Linked DNA regions of Homo sapiens: region 1 is linked to region 2. The links are contacts of gene promoters, found by promoter capture Hi-C in blood cells and fetal thymus (Javierre and others, 2016). All regions are on one chromosome and are shown on one strand. The core of a region is centred on a gene start or on the middle of the fragment in contact, and the rest is flanking DNA. Distances in the headings are between cores, read along the strand shown.

What was found. The method cuts DNA at HindIII sites, captures the fragments that hold promoters and counts their contacts. A CHiCAGO score of 5 or more calls a contact.
Region 1: a fragment that was not itself captured here is called in contact with the fragment with the promoter of C6orf52 in region 2 in 4 of 17 cell types (non-activated CD4 T cells, total CD4 T cells, activated CD4 T cells and 1 more); the score reaches 8.0 in non-activated CD4 T cells.

The regions. Positions count from the first base shown.
Region 1 is chr6:17,707,847-17,712,004 of GRCh38, forward strand. NUP153-AS1 (NUP153 antisense RNA 1) reads left to right here. Exons shown (of 3, transcript NR_134618.1): 3 at 2,943-3,181. Among named protein-coding and RNA genes, the nearest start is that of NUP153-AS1, 2.9 kb to the left of the region's middle. The HindIII fragment of the contact is 1,146 bases long and covers 810-1,955 here.
Region 2 is chr6:10,693,032-10,696,893 of GRCh38, forward strand. C6orf52 (chromosome 6 open reading frame 52) reads right to left here and starts at 1,585. Exons shown (of 5, transcript NM_001145020.3): 1 at 1,463-1,585. It overlaps PAK1IP1 (PAK1 interacting protein 1), which reads left to right and starts at 1,941. Exons shown (of 10, transcript NM_017906.3): 1 at 1,941-2,038. The coding sequence starts at 1,955. RefSeq lists enhancers at 1,499-1,548, 1,557-2,159, 1,589-1,968. The HindIII fragment of the contact is 16,030 bases long and covers 1-3,862 here.

The DNA.
Region 1 (4,158 bases), core at 133-2,632, 7.0 Mb after region 2:
TGGGTAATCAAAGCCAGGACTATAACCCAACTTTTCTGTAAGAGCTAAAGACAAATAGCCAAATGATTAGGGAGGAAAAATATGTTGTGAAAAATCTTAGACTTACTATAAATCTTTTTTTTTCTTTCTTTCTTTCTTTCTTTTTTTCTGAGAGACAGAGTCTTGCCCTGTCGCCCAGGCTGGAGTGCAGTGGCGCGATCTTGGCTCACTGCACCCTTTGCCTCCCAGGTTCAAGCTATTCTCCTGCCTCGGCTTCCTAAGTAGCTGGGACTACAGGCGTGCACCACCACGCCCAGCTGATTTGTGTATTTTTAGTAGAGATGGGGTTTCGCCATGTTGGCCAGGCTGGCCTTGAACTCCTGACCTCAAGTGATCCACCCGCCTTGGCCTCCCAAAGTGCTGGGATTACCCGTGTGAGCCGCCACGCCCAGCCTATTTACTATAAATCTCCCACTTACTAGCTGTGTAGCCTTGGGGAAGTTACTGATCCTGTTTCTTTCTTTTTTTTTTTTTTTTGAGACGAAGTTTTTTCCTCTTGTTTTGCCCAGGCTGGAGTGCAATGGCGCAATCTCAGCAACCTCCACCTCCTGGGTTCAAGCGATTCTCCTGCCTCAGCCTCCCGAGTAGCTGGGATTACAGGCATGTGCCACGACGGCCGGCTAATTTTGTATTTTTACTAGAGATGGGGTTTCTCCATGTTGGTCAGGCTGGTCTCGAACTCTCAATCTCAGGTGATCTGCCCACGGCCTCCCAAAGTGCTGGGATTACAGGCGTGAGCCACCGCGCCCAGCCCACTGATCCTGTTTCTAAGCTTCGTTTTTTTCATCAGCAAATAGAGCGAATATTGACCTCACAGGGTAGTGGTCTGGTGAAAGGATTAATGTATATCTAGTTCATAGTAACTGCTTAGATAGAAAGCATCCAATATCAACCATCAATCAGATATAAATAATTAGTTCCAAGACATTTATACTATCTCCACAATCAAACTGCACAATTCAGGTTCATTGTTTAAATCATACAAGTGAAATTGTAAAGCCAGTCTTCTAGTACCTTTGAACTTGTACCTTTCAGCGCCTAAAGAAACTATGCTATACCAAGCATAGGTGTACACATCAATGGCTTTCAGTGGCACCTCTGACCATAACCATCAAGATCAAGACAAGTTGCCAAATATGATAAACAAAATTAATCTATTTTCCGCTGTCTCATCCTAGCTTCATGCCTCCTCCCACCACTAACTTCCCACTAAATTCTCCAGGTATGCCCCCTCTTCCTCCTGAAGCACTTCATCTTTCTTAAAGACAGTTGTTTCCCTCAGGTGCTATCTTCCTCCTATGCAGAAATCCTATTCTTCCACAAATCCATAGCTAGATATTTGACAGCCAAGTAAAGTAATTCACGATAAGCTAACTCATAGGGAAGATCTGTACCTGAATCTTTAATTGGGTTATACGTAGAGGAGATTAAACCATAGCCACATCCCATCTGCCCTCTTCACTCTATGAGACCCAGAGTTTCCACCACAGAACAGAGGACTGACTGGAATCAAAGCTCACCCCTTTCTTGGAGGCTATTCTTTGATGTGCTGGACACCCTTCACAGCCAACCTTTGAAAGGAAGAGAGACGCGAAAGAATTGGGCCAAATGTAGACAATGCTTCAGAAATAGAAGATTGGTAGAACTTGAGGAGATATGGGAAAATCCACATTCCTTTTACCCATGCTCTCAACTTTTTACCCATTTCCACAATTATTTTATTTCTTGGAAGTAAAATAGTATTTGAGGGAACTATAATGCATTAATCTCACATTCATGTGATTGAGTCATTGGAAGCCGTGCCAGGCTTGAGAGCAGAGAAGGAATAAAGAGACAGGAGGAAATCTGCATTCAACCTGGACCTAGTTTTTTCAGCCAAATAAATGGCATATTGGGAGACACTGCAATTCATGAAAAGCTTGTTGCTACAATAGTCCTCCTCTGCCAAGAAACTTCTTTATTTTGTTCCCCATATAATATAGTAGAAAGTGGCCGAGCACAGTGGCTCACACCTGTAATCCCAGCACTCTGGGAGGCCAAGGCGGGTGGATCACTGGAGGTCAGGAGTTCGAGACCAGCCTGGCCAACATGGTGAAACCTGTCTCCACTTAAAAAAAAAAAAAAAAAAATTAGCTGGGCGTGGTGGTGCTCACCTGTAGTCCCAGCCACTCGGGAAGCTGAGGCAGGAGAATCGCTTGAACCATGGAGGTGGAGGTTGCAGTGAACTGAGATCATGCCACTGCACTCCAGCCTGGGCCACAGAGTGAGACTCCATATCAAAAAAATTAAAAAATTAAAACAACAAATATATATATATATGTATATATATATATGTAACCAGCTGCCAATTATAAATTAGCAAATAGGCTGCTGACCCATCTCTAATAGATAAGGAGTATCCACTAATTAAAAGTGAAATACAATTTAGTCTAAACCCAACCTAGATTGAAAAAGAGCCATCATACATTCTTCAGAAGGTACTAATACAATTCTGGCCAAAAGAATGTTTAAAGATGACAAGTACAAGAAGTTACGAAATTTTATGTAGTTATTCCACCTTACCAAAACAAAATGAGGTATCTGCTGTGATGTCTATTAAAACAAATTATCACACTCATGCACAGCATAACAATGTTTCAATCAACAATGGGCCCAATATACAATGGTGGTCCCATAAAGAGCTGAAAAATTCGTATTGCCTGGTGATACTGTCTTTGTCCTAAGGTCTTATTGCAACACATTACTCACGTGTTTGTGGTGATGCTGGTATAAACAAACCTACTGTGTTGCCATTTGTGTAAAAGTGGAGTATGTACAATTATGTACAGTACAGAATACTTCATAATGATAAGTGGCTGTTTCTGGTTTATGTATTTACTATACCTTTTTTTTTTTTTTAACAGGCACTCCTTGCCATTTCCTGTTGCTACCATACTTTATTATTTTAAAGTGTATTCCTGGTCAGGCATGTGGCTCACACCCATAATCTCAGCACTTTGGGAAGCCAAGGCAGGAGGATCACTTGAGGCCAGGAGATTGAAACCAGCCTGGGCAACATAACGAGACCCCTTCTCTACAAAGAAATGAAAAAATTAGTTGAGCTTAGTGGTGTGCACCTGTAGTCCCAGCTACTAGGGAGGCTGAGGCAGGAGGATCACTTGAGCCCAGGAGTCTAAGGCTGCAGCGAGCTATGATCTCACCACTGCAGTCCAGCCTAGGTAACAGAGTGAGACCCCATCTCTAAAGAAAAAAATAAAGAAAATGAAGCTATTGGGTTTATTTATTATTTATTTATTTATTTATTGCCTGTTTGCTTGTATTTTAGGGAAAGAAGGGCCACACAACGGAAAGATATTTAAGGATGTAAATCATTGTATTCTCATTAACTTACTGTGTTCTCTCTCTATTGGGAATAAAGTAATATTTAAGACTAAATTAACTAATATGAGCAAATTTTGATTAACTACATATATCACTTGATTCCAACATGCCATATATTTCCTCTTCCTGACTACATGTATCAATGTATACTAGACTTTGGTATATATGTGTTTATGTACATTACATTATAGTTTAAGGCATATTTTAAATTCAATCTTGAATGGAAACTCAGTTTTATTGGATGAAATAATAACCAAATTTAGGAAGGCAATCCCATCCTAACATTTAAGACAGTTAATGAATTAACTGAGATTAATTCATTAAAACACAAATATTTATTGAGATATTTATGTGTTGGTTTCTAGTCTTGGCATTTAGTATGTCAGTATACAAAACTGTAAAACAATCTCTGTCTACATATTATGCTACACTTTACCATTTTATTGAGTTATACTAAAGTTTACTATTTTATAATCTATTAATCATTAGCACTTAACACTGATAATTCACCTTAAAAATGCTACACTCAAGCCAGGCACAGTGGCTCACACCAGTAATCCAGCAGTTTGGGAGGCCAAGATGTGCGGATCACCCGAGGTCAGGAGTTTGAGACCAGCCTGGCCAACGTGGCAAAACCCCGTCTCTACTAAAAAAATTAAAAAATTAGCCGAGTGTGGTGGCACATGCCTGTAATCCCAGCTACTTGGGAGGCTGAGACAGAAGAATCGCTTGAACTTG
Region 2 (3,862 bases), core at 335-2,834:
AAGACTAACTTACTTCAAGCCTCCTTGCTTTGTGCTAATAACTCTGTTAAGCCCTATTGTATGTAACTGCGGGACATGCTCACAGGCCCAGGCACGTTCCAGCTCACAGCCTGTTTAGCAAATCGGGTATCAGTTTAAGATTATGAGGTCCAGCCCCAGCCAACGGATGCAGGACACAGCAGTAAGGACAACCCAAAGGCGTAAGGGACAAATATGTCTGCTTTTCCTTTGTTCAGGAGTGCTCTCACCATCGTTCCATCTGCAATTGAGCACCCTTTCTGCATAAAGTAAAAATTGCCTTGCTGAGAGATCTTTTGTCTCCATGCTGACTTTTCTTCGTGTCACCAATTATCTATTTCTAACAATAACAAGGTCTTTTCTGCACTGCAGTGACAACCAAAGCATCCCAAATGAAATCATTTCTGCAAGACCCAAACTAGCCTCTATTAACACGTACTAACAATTCAGAACACCAGAGAAGAAAAGTTATTGGAAACAAAAGGGTCTAAGCGCTGAAGCACTGTATCGCACTTGAAATGGAGGCTGAAGATTTGAGAAGGATGGACTATGCATCTTGTTTACCAAATGACCTACTACGGTGTTTATGAGAACTATACGAACCAAGATTTACTCTGTTGGGAGCTTGTAGGAAAGCTGTAATGTCTAAGACATACCTGAATCTCTAAACCTTATTAAATAAAACTTTTTTTTTCTTTGAAAGGGGGCCTGGCTCGTCCCCCAGACTGGAATGCAGTGGAGCGATCTCGGCTCACTGCAGCCTCGACCTCCTGGGCTCAAGCAATCCTCCCACCTCAGCCTTCCGAGTTGCTGAGGCCACAGGCGGGCGTCGCCATGCTGGGCTAATTTATAACATTTTTGTAGAGACGGCATCAAAATATGTTGCTCAGGCTCACTTTGTTTTCCCAACTCTCAAATGAAGGCTCTGGCCGGGCGCTGTGGCTCACGCCTGCAATCCCAGCAACTTTGGGAGGTCGAGGCAAGCGGATCACCTGCGGTCGGGAGTTCAAAACCAGCCTAGCCAACATGGAGAAACCCTGTCTCTACTAAAAAATACAAAATTAGCCAGGCGTGGTGGCGTATGCCTGTAATCCCAGCTACTCGGGAGGCTGAGGCAGGAGAATTGCTTGAACCCGGGAGGCAGAGGTTGCGGTGAGCCGAAATCGCGCCACCGGACTCCAGCCTGGGCAAAAAGAGCGAAACTCCGTCTCAAAAAAAAAAAAAAAAAAATGAAGGCTCACTGCTCCCTCCCCAGGAGGTGCCGCAACCTTGGCCAATACAGCCCCAGAGTTAGACAAGCAGACAGAGAAAGTGTGCAGGGCTGGGGTTCTGGCCCGGGCAGACGGGAACGCGGACACATCTAGCACTCCGAGTCCGTCAAGGCAGCGCGAGCGCTGCGCCGCTGGAACAAGTCACCGCGAACCCTAATCCCACCCCTCCTTACCCTATTAACGACAGAAAGCCTCGTTCCGCTGGTCCCTGAACAAAAACTCCTACCCTACTAGTACACAGCCCACAACAATGCACGCTGCCGGCGCTACAGCCCCTAAGCAACCGGCCGGAAGTCGGCCCCACCTCCTCCTGATGTCACGGAAATGAAGGGCTTCGCAGAGGATGTCCCGCCCGCTCCCTTCAGACGGGCGTAGCTGGCACCTTCCTGAGATATGCCTGCTTGCCCCCGATTTTTTTCTCCTTGCAGTGAGAACCTCCTCATGTGGCATCTTTACTTATTCTCTTCTTGGAAAATCCATGTGACCTCCCCGCGCTTAAAGTGTTTCCACGTTACAGGCGACTTAAAGGCAGCCCTGGAGCCTGACGTATAATTCGAGCGCCGATGCAGAAAGGAGTCAGGTGTTTTTTTTTTTTTTTTTTTGGTTTCCGGTTCTGTCACCTCCAGGCTGAGCCGGGCTGGCGGAAGAGGCACGTGCGCTGCTGAATGGAGCTGGTCGCTGGTTGCTACGAGCAGGTCCTCTTTGGGTTCGCTGTACACCCGGAGCCCGAGGCTTGCGGCGACCACGAGGTGAGATACCGCGTAGTTAGAGACAGTCGGAGGCGGGGCCGGGAAGGTCGGGTTTGGTTCCTACACAGCAGAGGTGAACATTGGAGCGCCTGCTGTTCACTGGATGATTTGATGAATCAAACCTAAGAGACTTAAGAGAAAAGCTAACCTTTTAAACCGTAGAATGGACATTTTATCAAAATGAGGCAATATCTGCCTTTTCTAGTAGACAAAAGGTCCACGGGACACAAAGGAAACCGGCATTTCTGCATACGGACAAATGAGTCGTAGATTGTGGATTTAAGGATCGATCCCATAAGTTGACAGTATTCAGAATTTAATGAAAGAAGATCTCGCTCTTTTGCTGAATTTCTGCCCTGGAATTTTACAAATTACTAGAACTAGATTAGGATAAATCCCTTATAGGTAAAGCGATACCAATTCATTATTTGTTGGGAACTTATGGCGAGCTGGGCGGTGGAGATGCAAAGATGCTGGAGGTATGGATCTTGCCTTAGAGACGTTGCCTACATAAGGGGTGGAGGACTGAGGAGACGCATAGATGGAGAGAAATTACAGCAGAATATGATATTACTAGATGTGTGAATAGATAAAAAGGTCAAATAAATTATCAGTAGTCAAATAGGTAGATAGGACTATACTCACGACTAGGAATCCGACCTCCTAACATCTAGCTCACTTTTATTCTTGAAGCAATTCTAAGCATTTTCTAGAAAATTGAGTACAGTACTTCTTTATGAAGTCAAGGCGTCGGTCTTTAATTATCCAGAAAATTTGGAAGTATATCACTTGGCCTATTGCTTTCGTTTATTTTGTTTCCTACTCCAGTTATTTGCTCTTTGTCTTTGGCTGAAAAGTGATGTGTTTTGAATAGTCAAAGATGATGCTATTTAATTTTTTTTTTTTGTAGTGAAATTACTTAACTGTGTTCCAGACACACAGTAGTCCTCACAGCAACCCTCTGAGGAGGATGCAGTTATTCTCGTTTTGCAGATGAAGTACCAAAATGTTGGTCCTAGATAGGTTAAGTGACTGCTGAAGGACACACAGATAATAATTGACACAGCTGACCCCAAAATGTCAGGAGCCCCCGAGGGTCTCTGACATTTGAAACTCTTAACCATTACCCTATACTTCTACTAAATCTAAGCAATAGCCTAGATAACCTACATTATGTGAATTTTAAAAGGTTATTATTTGATTTAAGGCCATAGCAGACCCGCAAAAATGCTTGATTCAAAGGAGGCCCCCTTGGTCTTAAATGATGGAAGGAGTATCTTCTGTAACTAAGGACCTGATTTGCAGTAACACATGTTCAAAGAAGTTTGATGGGTTTTTTTCTTTTTCGGTTTGTTTTGCAAATACTTTTTGATGCAGTTCCTTCAGTTTAAGGAGTGAGTGAGTGTGTGTGTGTGTCTGTGTATTTTGCTGTCATGCTTCGCACTCATCCAATCAGACTTCCTAATGCTATTGTCACATGGCAATAAGCACAGAGTTCCTGAGATTTCGTTATTGGTGATTCTCTAGAGCTTACGTTGGTACTCATGGAAACATACCTTTACTCTGTTGGTTTTTCTTTATAAGACTTGTCCACTGGGCGCGGTGGCTCATGCCTGCAATCCCAGCACTTTGGGAGGGCGAGGCAGGTGGATCACCTGAGGTCAGGGGTTCAAGACCAGCCTGGCCAATGTGGTGAAACCCTGTCTCTACCAAAATTAGCTGGGCATGATGGCAAGTGCTTGTAATCCCAGCTACTCAGGAGGCTTAGGTGGGAGAATCGCAGTTCATTGCTGTGTATCAACTGCTTGGAATAGTGCCAGACAC